5 separate regions of the Homo sapiens genome follow, and regions 2, 3, 4 and 5 are each linked to region 1. The links are contacts of gene promoters, found by promoter capture Hi-C in blood cells and fetal thymus (Javierre and others, 2016). All regions are on one chromosome and are shown on one strand. The core of a region is centred on a gene start or on the middle of the fragment in contact, and the rest is flanking DNA. Distances in the headings are between cores, read along the strand shown. Region 1 holds the start of CHORDC1 (cysteine and histidine rich domain containing 1). Region 2 overlaps SMCO4 (single-pass membrane protein with coiled-coil domains 4). Region 3 overlaps SMCO4 (single-pass membrane protein with coiled-coil domains 4). Region 4 overlaps LOC105369422 (a long non-coding RNA gene). Region 5 has its middle 33 kb from the start of DEUP1.

Evidence for each region. Contacts are between HindIII fragments. The CHiCAGO score rates a contact against its expected background, and 5 or more counts as called.
Region 2: a contact is called between a fragment that was not itself captured here and the fragment with the promoter of CHORDC1 in region 1, in 2 of 17 cell types (fetal thymus and non-activated CD4 T cells). The highest score is 5.5, in fetal thymus.
Region 3: a fragment that was not itself captured here is called in contact with the fragment with the promoter of CHORDC1 in region 1 in 1 of 17 cell types (fetal thymus); the score reaches 6.1 in fetal thymus.
Region 4: a fragment that was not itself captured here is called in contact with the fragment with the promoter of CHORDC1 in region 1 in 2 of 17 cell types (activated CD4 T cells and naive CD8 T cells); the score reaches 7.3 in activated CD4 T cells.
Region 5: a fragment that was not itself captured here is called in contact with the fragment with the promoter of CHORDC1 in region 1 in 1 of 17 cell types (neutrophils); the score reaches 5.8 in neutrophils.

The regions. Positions count from the first base shown.
Region 1 is chr11:90,221,606-90,224,460 of GRCh38, reverse strand. It overlaps CHORDC1 (cysteine and histidine rich domain containing 1), which reads left to right and starts at 1,412. Exons shown (of 11, transcript NM_012124.3): 1 at 1,412-1,570. The coding sequence starts at 1,507. It overlaps LOC124902812 (a long non-coding RNA gene), which reads right to left and starts at 1,302. Exons shown (of 2, transcript XR_007062978.1): 1 at 1,041-1,302. The HindIII fragment of the contact is 11,072 bases long and covers 1-2,855 here.
Region 2 is chr11:93,526,354-93,529,208 of GRCh38, reverse strand. The region is part of intron 1 of SMCO4 (single-pass membrane protein with coiled-coil domains 4); the gene reads left to right. Among named protein-coding and RNA genes, the nearest start is that of SMCO4, 16 kb to the left of the region's middle. RefSeq lists enhancers at 1,832-1,881, 2,262-2,431, 2,462-2,561. The HindIII fragment of the contact is 7,277 bases long and covers 1-2,855 here.
Region 3 is chr11:93,498,978-93,501,832 of GRCh38, reverse strand. SMCO4 (single-pass membrane protein with coiled-coil domains 4) reads left to right here. Exons shown (of 3, transcript NM_020179.3): 2 at 2,485-2,557. Among named protein-coding and RNA genes, the nearest start is that of SMCO4, 43 kb to the left of the region's middle. The HindIII fragment of the contact is 1,611 bases long and covers 598-2,208 here.
Region 4 is chr11:87,031,458-87,034,312 of GRCh38, reverse strand. All of the region lies in intron 1 of LOC105369422 (a long non-coding RNA gene), which reads left to right. Among named protein-coding and RNA genes, the nearest start is that of TMEM135, 5.0 kb to the left of the region's middle. The HindIII fragment of the contact is 2,063 bases long and covers 483-2,545 here.
Region 5 is chr11:93,296,599-93,299,453 of GRCh38, reverse strand. No RefSeq gene overlaps it. Among named protein-coding and RNA genes, the nearest start is that of DEUP1, 33 kb to the left of the region's middle. The HindIII fragment of the contact is 1,097 bases long and covers 813-1,909 here.

The DNA.
Region 1 (2,855 bases), core at 163-2,662:
CCAATTGTGTATGATCAATTTCTACGGTCTATTACATTCACAGCCGGTGCAATTGTAAATTGGTACCACCTTTCGGAAAGCAATTGGCTCTATATATCTTTAAAATCTTAAAGTTATTTAAAAAGCCTTATGCCCTTTACCCCAGAACTGTCGCTTTCCAAAAATTTTCCTAAAGGGGGAAATTCGAAATAAGAAAAACAATACACAGGTTGAGCACTGTAACTTATATATAATAAAGTTGGGGAAATTAGAGAAAGGTTAAATTACAGTGCATTTATTCAACAGAATACTCCGTCATTTGTAACAATGACTATGAAACAAAATAGAAAAATACTCACGTTAGGTTAAATGAAGAAAACATACCTATCTATGGTGGATCACAATATGAAAATTTAATACTTCTAGGTAGAAGAAGAGAAAGAGAATATGAAAAACTAAAAAGTCTTTAGGGGTAGGAGGACGTGAGCAGATCTCTAAATAACCTTGAGATCAATGGAAACAGTGTATAGATTTTTAGGTTCACTTATAAGCTGCTGATCTTATTTTAAGATCCTTCAGTATATGTTATCAAAAAGTGTTTGCTTTTCTTGCAAACGCCCATGTTTGGGAAATATGCAAGTTGAAGCCAATGCATTACTGTACTTTTTATAATGCACCTGAAGTTTTACTAGCTGTTCCAAGAGTGGTGTACTGAGTATTGATAAATCGTTTAAGTGGAGGCTCACATGAAATATTAACTATTACCCCAGGGCTTTAGAGCAACTGTGATCAATTCTGGCACAGCATCAGATCCATAATTTTCTTTGCTACTCTGATTTCTACGTTTTTTGTATTTTCAAAGTAATGTGACCGCAACTGTTAAGTTATTAAAATTGCTCCTGAGATGAGGGCACTCGAGACACAAACACACGGAGAGGTTCGTCCGCTATTCCTCTCATTTACTAAGCTCACACGTCTACCCTGAGGATTTGGAAACACTGTATGATTCTGCACTTACTGTGCACTTATCCCTTAGTGCTAAGGGGTAAACAGATACCCACCGGGCTGTCTAAGGCGCAGCCTCAAGGCAAGGAAGAAGGGTGCTGGGTCGCAGGGGATGAGAGGGCGGGGCGGCCACTTTGCTGCAGGAGATACCCAAAGCCAGTTAGCACTGAGGAAGTCAGAAGAGAATTGTCAGTCTCTCGGACACCTTCATTTTCTGCCCCGGAAATTTCTCCTCCGCTGTTGTCTGGGCTCCACTTCCGACCCCCAGTTGCTACCAGCTGTAGTCCGACCTATCGTGGCCCGGGCTAGTGCCAGCCTCCCGCCGCTACCTCCGCCTCGTCCCTTCTCCTCTGCGCCTGCGCGACCGGAAAATTCGCGAAGGTTCCTGAAACGCAACGGATCGTTTCCGGAAGCCGGTAGCCGCCTCAGTCGTCAGACCGGTGCTAGCGACACGGGAGTGGCAAACGCATCCTCTTGCCGTTCCCGGTGTTTGGGCCTTGCCTGTGACGGTGGGAAAAGAAAATGGCCTTGCTGTGCTACAACCGGGGCTGCGGTCAGCGCTTCGATCCTGAGACCAATTCCGACGGTAAGAGGAACGCGCCGCCAGCCCTCCCTCCCCTCCACCTCATCAGCAGGGGAGGCCCTTTGGGCCGGAGGGTGTCCGCGGATCTCCTGCAGCCGTCCTCGCGCGGCCCCAGGTCCATGCCCCTCCTGGGCCTCCCTTGGCTGCCCGCGCAGCCCGCCGGCCGCCCCTCTGTTGCGCCGCGTTCCCTTGGCGAGCGCCCGGCCCCGGCGCCTGACTGTCCTCTGCCACTGCGGAGAGAGACGCTCCCATGGATCCACGTGTTTCCCCCGTCGTCCCCGCACTCCTTTTAAGTCGCCTGGAATTTAGAACGAACACGTTTCTCCTCTGGCCCTCCAGTCTCTGGGGAAGCAAAAATTAACGAGGTACTGGTGAGCTTGCTTTGTAGTTCCCGAAGTAGTGATGGCTGTGATTGCCTGCGCGAGAGGGAGAGGTGGCCGGGATGAGCAGCGGGTTGTCCTAGCATGTAAGCTCTGCCTTGTAGAAGTTTGTGTTCAGTCGATCCGCTGTTACAAACCTCTTACAAGTGTTCTTGGTAAGGGACATTACTCTGTATCTTCACGCTGTTTTGATAGGTTCATCCTGGTGGTACGTTAGTTATCTTTTTATTACTAGCGGCATTTGTTGCTTGTTCTTCTTGTGGCCTCCACGTTTTACTACCATGCCTACTCCCGTATAAAATGAGTGAATGTCATCTACAGCACCTAGATGTCGAGTTAAGGATCCAAAGCGAAAATGACTATTAGGTGAAGGACGGGAAATGATCAGTGAATTGAAATTTTGATTGACAAAGAAGTGAGATGATTCCTTGCGTATCGTGAGAAGTGACAACACGTTTTCAGATTGAACTAGCATTTAGTTTATATTTTCTGCATGCCAGCCATTATTGCTTTATCTTATTTAATCTTCATAACCACCCTGGGACGCATGTAATGTTAATTAGACCCATTTGATAGAGAAGCTCAGTTCAATGAGGTTGTATTAATAACATCCTTCATTATTGTGGAGGAGATGAAAACTGATGCCTTTTGAACTCTTCACCTCTGAGATGTTTGAAATACTTATTTTTGGCACACAGGTAAATTGATAGCGTTATTTAAAATAAGACCATTGATACAGAGTTTTAAGGAAAAGGAAAATCCAACCTATGCAATACTCAAGTTACCGCCACTGACATTTTTATGATGCAAATATGATGCTACTCATGAGGAAAATTGTGAGATTTCAGTCGATGACAAAATCGAGAAACGATTTTAAAGCCCTTTGGTGTTGGCAGCCTATGTAAAAC
Region 2 (2,855 bases), core at 356-2,855, 3.3 Mb before region 1:
CCTTAGCACATCAAAAGAGCTTCCTTAGAGGAACTGCCTTTTAAATTGCACAGCCTTTCTCTGCCAGAGTGCTACAGGAAGTTTTGACTCAGGTAGTGTTCCTTCAGAATCTGTGGAGGCAGGCTTTGCTTCCTTGTTATAGTTAGAACAGAAAGGCCTTGCCCACGAGTGGGAGCCAGACAGGGCTCCACGTGTTCCCCTCCCATAAGACAGCCTCCTTGTCCTATGCCCAGGGGTGGCTTTTGTCTCTGCTGACATGCCCCCAACATCTAGTAAATACGTACTTGTTGATGGACAGGATGTATTGGATGTGGGCCCTGGCATCTTTGCTGGGCTCTGAGTAGGCGGCATGCTGTGATTTCACTTAGAACCCTGAGAAGTTGGTCTTCTGGTATCCAGATTGGTACTGGAACATTAAGTTCTGATTTCATCACTGCTGCCTTCGATAAGTTACTTGCCTCCCTGGGCCTCAGTTCTCTCATCTTTAATCTAGAGGGTTGGATGAAATGATTGGCATGGGGGTCTCCCTTCACCTCTCCACCCACTCTGGGCAGCCCCTTGCACTGTCTCCCTGGTCACAGTGCGAGCTCCTGGAAGGTAGAGCCGGTTTAGGCACAGGGAACATGAACTTTTTATCCCAGCCAGCCTGATAAATACAGGGCTTCCCCAGAACTCAACATGCTTCAGCCCTGGTGCTCCCTGATGGCCTGTCTGGCCAGACCCCCAGAGTTCTTGCTTTCTGGGCCAACTTGGAGGCAGAGACGAGCAGGTGGTGGAGGATTTGGCTAAATCTCCATTCTGGCTCTGGAGGCGGGTGTCTCCAGTTGCTCAACCTGATCTCCTTGTTCTTTTCTCAAGTTTCACACAACTTTTTATCCTTTCCTTGAACAAAGGCTTTTTATTTCTGGATGATGTTGTGAGAAGTTTTTGTATTTATAAGTAAGGCAGAAAAGAATGGATCATAACTACAAAATTTTATATCAATTACATTCCAAATTTGTTAAGAAATATCTATGTGTAGGAAAAAGACCATAAAGTACTTTATTTTAGTGGTCATCTCTGGATTTTCATATTATAGGAGGGCTTTTTAAGCATTTTTTTTACAATGAGCATGTACTGTCTTTATAACTATTAAAATTATTAATGATAATTAATTATTATTTATTAGGATTTAGTATGTGCCAGACAATGTAAGAACTTGCCATTACAGTATCTTATTTAATTCTCACTGTGAACCTATGACATTCCTATTTTAAAAAAACAAAATATACTGGGTGTGGTGACTTGTACCTATAGGCCCAGCTACTCAGGAGGCTGAGTTGGGAAGATCACCTGAACCCAGGAGTTTGAGGGCTACATAGCAAAACCCATCCTGTTTCTTAAAAGCAAACAAATATTAACCTAATTTTTGTTATTGTGGTGAAATATACGTAAAAATTGCTTTTTTAGGCTGGTTGTGGTGTCTCATGCCTATAATCCCAGCCCTTTGGGAGACTGAGGCAGGAGGATCACTTGAGCCTAGGAGTTGGAGACCAGCCTGGACAATATAGTGAGACCCCATCTCTACAAAAAAATTTTTAAAAAATTAGTTATGCGTGGTGGTGTGTGCCTGTAGTCCCAGCTACTTAAGAGGCTGAGTTGGGAAGGTCGCTTGAGCCCAAGAAGCTGAAGTTGCAGTGAGCTGTGATCATGTCCCTGCACTCCAGCCTGGGTGACAGTGAGACCATGTCTCAAGGAAAAAAATTGCCTTTTCAACTATTTTTAAGTGTATAGTTTTGTGGCCTTAACCACATCCCCTGAGAGATTTTTTTTTGGAACCCCTTATGTGATAAATGAGGACGCTGAGACTTACAGAAACAAAGCTACCTGCCCAAAGTCACAGAGCTAGTCAGCTTCAGAGGCAGGATTTGAACCCAGAACTGACATACTCAGAAAGGTCCCAGGTTCCTGGGATCTGTGGTATATAACAGTTGGAGTCCATGATCACTCTTCTGCCTCTGCCCACCATTTGACAGTAGAAAGCCATTTGCTAGTGTATGTCTCTTTTTTGAAACTCTAGGGGTTGGATTGTGTTTGCCAGTGAGGTGGTGGTCAGCCCGATTTAGGGTGTGTGGCTGACGCAGGTGCTGCCTGTCAGCGGTTGCCAAGGTTGGTTTGTGAGCTCTGTTGTGTCTTGAGAAGGTTGAAGAGTGGGCTGCTGTACTGAGAGGGTTGTGTGTCGGAATTCTGTCTCTAGAAGGTCCTCAGCAGTGCAGTGGAAAGGGCAATGGCCTAGAGCTCAGATATGTGGCCTTGTCAGGTCTGGGTTATTTTGGAGAACACACATTGAACTTGGGAATTAGTCTGTACTTTAGTCCTGATTGTGCCGTGTGGTAGACATACTTAGGCTTCCATTTCCTCATTTCTCAGTGAGTGATAAAAATGCCTGTTCCACCTGCCTCCCAGGATGGTGGTGATGATTAAATGTCATGATGTAGGGAAAAAGTGCTGAGGAAACCACAGGGCTCTCAAGGAAGTTTCTCTGATGAGAATTTTGAGTGTACAATGGTGCGTGAGAACAGTGGGGCTGACCTTGGAGATGTGAGGAGGATGGATGCGGATGTGAAGAGCAGCAGGTTTGCTTTATTTCATTTTTGTTTTTGGCAGCAGCTTGTTTCCTCTACCATCGCTTCACTGGTGAAGTATAATGTTCCACTGTCTACCTGGTGTTGTACTGCCTAGTGCTGAATGCTCTAGGATTTCACTGGAATTTGTCCCTGCCAAATTCCTTGGATTCACTCTCCCCAAAACTCTCATCTCTTTGGTGAAATGAGTTGTAATTTAGGAGATCATTCTGTAACTGCGGTGGTTGAAAG
Region 3 (2,855 bases), core at 154-2,653, 3.3 Mb before region 1:
GGAAAGGTACAGTATACACCATGTGCAGCAGGTCATGCACAAATTCAACAATACCCAAACCCGCCGTAGTTGGCTAAATGGTGGCCCCAAAGATGTGCTTAGATTAGAACATCCCTGGAACCTATAAATGTTACCTTAATTGGAAAAAGGGGGTTTGCAGATGTGACTAAGTAAGGATCTTGAGATGAGATCATCCTGGATTATTTGGTAGGCCCTAAGTGCCATCACAGATATTCTTATAAGAGAGAAGCAGAGAGAGATTTGACACAGAAGAGAAGGCAGTGTGCCAAGAGGAGAGGGCATATGTCAAGATGGAGGCAGAGGTCGGAATGATGTGGCCACAAGCCAGGGAATGCCAAGCCACCAGAAGCTGGAAGCGGCGACAAACGAGTTCTCCCCTACGGCTTCTAGAGGGAGCATGGCATTGCCTGTTTATTTCAGACTTCTGACCTTCAGAATTAATACATTTCCTGTTTTAAGCCTTCCAGTGATAATTATGGCAGCCTCAGGAAACTCATATACTAGTCTGTGCCCTGTCCAAGACACTTCTGCTGTTTATGTGCTTGGCTCTCTCTTTCTCATATTGCTAGAAAAGCTTCTGAGCACTTACTCCCAATTTCTGTACTTATCTGGTCATGACCCAGCAGCAGAGTTGGCACTGGTTTGCAGAACTCCTGTTGAGTACCACTGATCTAGTCTCTATCATTTTATGAATGAAGAAACTGAGGCCTAGTGAGAGAAAGTGCTATAGGTCTGGGACGAGCAGCAGGTGCCTCTGCTACTTGGAATATTTAGACAGGGCCAGATCTGGGGAGAGCAGATAGCAGAGTTGCCCTTCGGAGGCCAGCTGGTGTCCCTGTCGCTGTTCTGTACCCTGTTCAGTGAAAGCTGATGCTCCAGTGAGCCCCTGGGGCGACAAGCTGCTCAGAAGGCCTAGAAACTAGGGCAAACTGGTAGAGCCTTTGCTGCAGCTACTGAGCCAACAGCAGCAGGCAAAGAACCCTGTCAAGGGTAGAGGTCACGGCTTGCTGATGACTTAATTTCCAGCTGACTGCTTCAGTCTTTATAGACCCTCTAACTCAGGTCATATTTTTCCTCTGGAGCCCAATTTTAACTTTCCATATTTTCAGAATGGCAATTATCTCTTAGAGAATGGGGACTAGACTACATGCTGCTTTGATAAAGTCCAAACTCCTTTACTTGGCATTCATGACTCCTGAATAACCAACTCCCTTCCCCTTTCCAGTTCTGCGTCCCATCCCTCCCTTTTACATACCTTAATCTCTGGACTTCACCAAAATCAGTGCTCCCTAGTAGAAGAGGCTATAAGACATTAGGTTCTTAAATCCCCACAGTAGGTAAGTTTGTGATTGCCCAACTCAGGAACTAATGGAAAAATATGGCGAGGATAGAGGTCGGGCATACATCTGTGAAGCTCTTTGGGAATAAAAAAACAACAACTGTTTACATTTACTGCAAGAGAATATGAAGGCAGCACAGCAGCCAGTACCAACCACTAACATGAACAAAGTCATCTGAGACCATCTGGCCCAGTGGAGCAACCAGATGCCTATAGCCACATACATAAGCCAGGCAAGACCAGAAGAAAAAGCCCAGCTGAACTCAGCACTGATTGCTGACCCACCATACCTTGAAATGAAATGTTTGTTTGAAACAAAACAAAAAGCACGGTAAACCAAGATTTATCTTTACGTATTTTAGTAATGATAGGCATTGTACCATTACTCAATTATGTCTTGCTTGTTATGGACACTTTTTGGAGTCTCCCACCTTTTTACTTTCAAGGGAACTCTTATTTATTTTGCTTTATGGGTAATACCCATACTAAAAGCTCCTTTCCCCCAGTATCTGGGCTTCCAACTTAATATTTAATGCCACTGAGGTTTTGAGTTAATTTGTTGGCTGTCCTCTGTGGCTGTCACACATCTCTCTTCCTTTCCTCTCTGATGTTATGGGACGGTAGTTCGGATGCCTGGGTCACTTTCTCATCTTTTATTTTTCCCAAGGCTTTGGTTTAAAAGCCTCTGTTCCTTCACCTTCCGCGTTTGTTTCTTTTCTAATCCCAAACCTGTATCCTTCATTTTTAAATCAGTGATTTTTGATTGCAGGGAACAGCCATGGTCTCATGGCGGCTTAAGTTAGCAGCGAGTTTGTTGTAGAAATCCCAGGAATACAGGAAGCAAAGCTTGACTGCCTGCTGGGCACAGGAGTGGGAAGGCCCCTCTAACTCCATGCAGGGGCTGCTTGGTCCTGTCCATCACGCACATGCACACATGTGCCAGTGTATCTGTCTGTCTGCCCTTCTGGAGCAGGGCGGTGACAAGTGTCTATCCCTAAGCCAGTTGGGAGAGGGGAACCGTGTGACTGCCCTCTCAGCATGGGCTGAGGGGGTTCCAAAAAAGGAGTCTGTGGAGGGATACCTCCCCAGCAGCTATTATACCCTTTCTTCTAATTTCTCAACAGGAATAACTCAAGTCACCTGTACTGGAAATCAGTTTGCTGAAATTAATCAACGATTCTTGAAGTTGAAGAAAAGGTAAACATTCTCTTATAAGGGAAACTCATTGTCTGGGGAGAGGTTACTGTCCCAGTCATTTCTCTCATATGCCTAGTTTTGTGTGTAATATTTTACCCCTTCTCTCTGCCTGGCCAAGTTCCTCTTCATCCCTCAAGATCTTTATCAAATGCCACCTTTGTCCTTTGTGGAGGATCTCCTCCAGGCTGCGGGTGATTTCTCCTGCTGTTGAACCCCCACGACACTTTCTCCTTCCTGTGATGTTTGTGTTCTCGTTTGCCCTTCCCCTGATGGTCTCACCCTTCCTCTCTTGGCCAGT
Region 4 (2,855 bases), core at 265-2,764, 3.2 Mb after region 1:
TTGGCTATGACAGTGGCTTGATTGGATACTTTCTGGGGGCTTCATTGTTTCTTCTTTTTCATTAAAAAAACGCAGGGAGGGCTTTAGGGTTCATCAACAAGGTGAAGCAAAGAGTTTCTCCAAAGAAGGTGCACAGTGGATGAAGAAAACTAATCTGGCAATTTATGATGGAATTCAAAGGCTTTGAAGAAACGCCAAGATGAAAATTGTTGCCCCTTTCTTTGTGATGGAAGAATGAAAAAAAAAAAAAAAACACAAAGTTGTTGCTCTTGTAGGATTCTAGTTTTGAAGATGTCAACGAAAAAGAATGGAAGAGCTCTTAAGATCTAATGCAGAGGATTTAACGACACTAATCTAGTTTAGATCTACATGCAGTCATTGTAGAAATAATTATCAGGCACAAGTACAATGGCAAAGTACGGCAAACTCGAAGTATGACACTGTAGTAGCTCTTGATTCCAGCAACAGTCAGTAACCAAGCTTTTCACAAAGCTACATATGATTCTGATTTTCTTTTCTTTTCTTTTCTTTTGAGACGGAGTCTTGCTGTGTCACCCAAGCTGGAGTGCAATGGGACGATCTCGGCTCACTGCAAACTCCGCCTCCTGGGCTCAAGTGATTCTTCTGCCTCACTAGCTGAGATTAGTGGCACCCACCACCACACCCGGCTAATTTCTGTATTTTTAGTAGAGACGGGGTTTCACCATGTAGTCCAGGCTGGTCCCAAACTCCCTGACCTTAGGTAATTCACCTGCCTCAGCCTCCCAAAGTGCTGGGATTACAGACATGAGCCACCATGCCCAGCCATAATTCTAATTTTCTACTAATTTTTGTTGCAACATAACTTCAGGTTTTTCCTTACGTCATTTTATTTAAAATATTGAGTTTCTAATATGTAAATATAAATTTTAATATTCAAATCTGGAGTATTAAAAGATACATATGCCCTTTCAGTCCAAGTAGGCAGTGTGTCTGCCAATACAATTCTCTTTAAGATTTTGGGGACTTCATATATATCAAATTATAATCCACTCCAATAGAAAAAAAAGCCACACTCACAAACCTCTGAGACAAACACTTTCCGTCTTGGGCTGAGAGTAAGAAAGCTGATGGAAAACACCCTTATACACTTAGAAGTGCTTTTGTCTAGCTGAAATGGTCTAGGTAAAATGGCTTTAAATCTTTGTACAGTCTTTACAAAAAATCTAAATAGCTGCACCCTGGATTGTACCTTCCCCTTAAGGCAATGCCTTAGTTGTTTCACCATCTGGAGAGGCTGGAAGTGAAAAGCAGTTTTATTTTTGAACCCAAAGTTCCCAGACTGTGTATATTTTCTCTAAATTTTGCTTAAAAATGAAATTGTTCCTTTTATATCTCACCTCTCTACATCTTATTCCACATAGGTTTTTTTTTTTTAATCAGTTGGCATTTTCAACAGTCTGTCTGGAAATTTCCTTAACTGCAAATACACCAGTTTGTTAGATATATTTTCTATTTTCTGCATTTCAGCATGCAACAGTGTTGCCAAACTTTCTGCCACTGCATAACAGGGATCCCTTTTTCTCCAGCCTTTCCTAACAGTTTCCTCCCTTCAAGCCTTCAAAGATTGTAGAAAAAACTCTCAAGTGGCCTTACAAAATATTCAGGTACATACACTGTCTAGAATTCTCAGCATCTATATTAGTTTGATGTTACCAGTACTTGGAAGCTACAGCTAAGGACACCATTCTCTCCAAACCCCTACCACTCCAACCACAGAATGTAAAAGTAAAAGATACTTTTGGAGGCTGAGGTGGGAGGATCACGAGGTCGGGAGATCGAGACCATCCTGGCTAACACAGTGAAACCCTGTCTCTACTAAAAATACAAAACAAATTAGCCGGGCATGGTGGCAGGCGCCTGTAGTCCCAGCTACTTGGGAGGCTGAGGCAGGAGAATGGCGTGAACCCAGGAAGCGGAGCTTGCAGTGAGCCGAGATGGTGCCACTGCACTCCAGCCTGGACAACAGAGCAAGACTCCATCTCAAATAAATAAATAAATAAATAAATAAATAATAAAAAAGTAAAAGATTTATGATTATTCTTTGAGAGGAAAAACACAAAATCAACATGTAGATGTGTACAAGGAATGCTTTAGAGGCCAGCCACATCTCTCTAAAAACAGTAGACTTATGCAATAACATATCTGTAGAAGACAAGTGTATTGATAGAATTGGAAGAAAAAAAAACGAGGAGCCCCCTGAGGCAATTCAGGTGCATGCCTGGGAATGAGAACTGCAGCCCAGGGACCTCAGGAATTAACTATGAAATGGGATGCATAGCTTCTCCTGGACAGATGTCATTAAATAACTGACTCATCTAACTAATGTTTTCTTTCTGAGAATAAAACAAACTTTTATTACAGTTTGGCTTCCCATGCAGGTCTGTCTTGAGAGACAGAATGGTTATATATTAGGTAACAGATATCCTAGTTTGTATGACAGGTTTTAATTTTCTATTGTTATTTAATAAATTGGCAGCTTGATTTATGCACTCATTTATAAGCTTGTTTTATATCACTTAGCCTGAGAAAGGAAGAGCCTCCCTGATATGCTTCCAAAGCCAGGTTTTTTACCCTGGTTGTTTGTGGCAATAAATTCTGTATTAGCCAAGAATGGTTAGGCTATGCCGAGATACCACATACACTCTAAATCTCAGAGAATTTAAAATAAGAAAGATTTATTTTGTGTTTACACAAACTCCAAAGCAGACTGGCCAGTTCTTCAGGGCAAGGGCAACCAGTGATTCAGGAATATAGCCTCTTCCATCTGCACTGGGCCTTCGTCAGTGGTCACTTTTTTTAATTTTTTCCTTGCT
Region 5 (2,855 bases), core at 112-2,611, 3.1 Mb before region 1:
CTTTTAAAACTATTTGACTAACTACATATGTATACACACACACACACACACACACACATATGTTCAGAAATGCAAGGCCAGGTCTATAAGAAATTGAGTATTTTTGCCTGCACATACACACACACACAGACACACACACACACATGACTATATATATATAAAAAATATATATATAGTCAAAAAGAGATATATATATATATATTTATATATGTCTTATAAAATTTAAAATTGAAACAAAAAGAAAGAAAACAAAGGGACAATGAGGACTATATATATATATAGTCAAAAAGATATATATGTATTTATATATGTCTTATAAAATTTAAAATTGAAACAAAAAGAAAGAAAACAAAGGGACAATGAGGACAATCTTTTGGTGAGAGTAAATGCGCCACATGGGTGCTACCTCACTGTTTTTTTTTCTCTGTGGGAGACATTACTAATTGATAAGAACTCTCTCTCTCTGGAGCCTGGAGACAGACTCAATACTTCCCAGAATCCAGTTTTAGGCATATAAGATTTGGGTCCTCAGAAGAAAACCATTTGCCATTCTTGGCCTAAGAGGAAATAATCCTTTACAGGCCTGCCCTTGCGTTTCTGAACTTAAGTGAAAAAAGCCCAAAATATGTTTTATGGTACACCAAACTAGAACATATATCCCTGTATACCTAACTCTGAAAACCAACTTAATTAAAGGATGATAGTCACTACTGTAGAACTCTAGCATTCCAGTGAAATTGCTACAGTTGAAAAAAGCCATTTAGAATTTAAAAAATATTCTCAACATTAACATAAAGATATACTTCAAAGCTTTACAGCACCACGATTAACAGAATTTTATTGCTGAGAGTTTTCAAAATAGTGTATATCTCTTCTCTAGCAGTATTGGCATATAACTTCATAAGAAAATCATTTTCCTTCAGGTCAGTATATAGTTAATTCACATTTCGAGATGAGGCTACCATGACAACATGACAACTTAATGAGGTTTGAACAGCTTCAGAAAAGGGATTACTAAAAGGAAGAGAAAAGAAAAACCTTGTGATAGAAAAATAGAATACCAGAATTATCTGGATGATGTTTAACAGCCATCTACAAGGACTTATTGTCACTCTTTTATCATGGCTTCCTCTCTCTGTTTTCATTTCAACTACTGCAGTGGTAGGATTATTTGTTCTTTGATGAAAATGAGTTGTTGTACAAGATTCAAGAAGAACACTTGTTCCCATCAAGCACAGGATCTGTTAAAATCTCCTGACATTTTTCAATGGCACTTTCATATTTCCTGGAATTTGATTATAACTGCCTCATCATTATATGGATCACATGGCTAATGTGCAAGGGCAAAAGGTTATAGCATGAATTTTCTGGCCCCTCAAAGTCTCAAAGGAGATGATAGTTCAGGCCATGAGAGGAAGACCTAGGCAGTGTGTGGTAAATGAGATATGGAACAATGTGGAGTAATGGTACAATGTTCGAAAAAGCACCAGAAGGCCTAGGACCCCAAATTCTGCCAAACCAATGGTGTGACACTGGTTAAATCACTTATCCTCTGAGTCCCATTTCTTTCATCTGTAAAATGATATGGGCAGGTTCAGTGATCTGTAAGATAACTTCATTGCACCAAATTTCCTCAATACTGATGTGGCATATTTTACAACTTTTAGAATTCCTATAAATAGTGTTTAAACATAGAAAGAATACGGATAGACTACCCTGTATTCTCTTAGAAAAATCAAAAAGCATGACCGGTGTTAAGAGCAGTGCCAAGGTAGGTTCAGAATACATAGGAATCCATTTGGGTAATTTGAGGCTGGAACAATTACATCTAGTCAGAGAAAGGCATTAAGAAGCTGCGTATCATTTAGAAAATATTGCTCTAGAGACTATCTGTGTACAGAATAAAGCTTCAAGAAAAATGAAACAACAAAAGATAGGCAGACTCGTGAGGTCCCCTAGTTGTCAGAGAACCAGGCTCCTTCTTGTTTACTGTGTGGACCTCACTCAACATTTGCACAAGATGGCTGCTGGAGCCCAAGGTGTTGAGCTGGTGTGTTCCAGGCAGCAGGTTATGGAAAGGGTCCAAGAGGGACAGTGCATGCACTCCATGAAATTCCATTTATGTCTTATTCTCTAAATGAGGTAATTTGACCACATGTAGCTGCAAGAAGACTGGAAAATGGAATTTTTGCATGAACAACGGTGTATCTAGCTAAAAGCTACTGTTTTATTACCATACATGGGGAGGGAGAAATTAGCACTTCCTGACACGGTACTGGAGCGATGAAGCAGCGTGGCAGGATGAGGCTGAGAGCAAAGTTGTCTGTCAATGCTTGAAGGAGGAAGCAAAACCAAGTTGAATTGTGCAGACAATAATGATCACAAAGACAAGGCCATGCTTGGGCTTTCACTAATGTGTTTGCCTTGTCCCATAAAGATCTGTACACATGTGCACACACACACAGACATATACTTGAGTGTACACACTACACAATGGGTCAAAAATATAGTACAGCTCTAGATCAGTCACAGAGATTAATAATAAACATGAAGCAACTCCGTCAATTCTAAAATTCAGACAGTTCAGCTTTCTCTTTATTAATAAAACCAGAAACATCCTTATAAATATTTTTAAACATAAACTCTGTGCTATGCTCCCTACAAAAGTATTCAAGCTCAGAGGAACTCTGAATGCTCTATGATGTCAAAGGATGTCTGACGATTTGGGAATTTTTTAATAACTAAGACTTAAATAGTTGAAGGGATAGTCAAACTAAATTTAGCCATTAAATTACTACATTTCAGACACTGTGTGTGTCTGTCAGTCAGAGATTACTTTTCAGATTCCCAGAAGA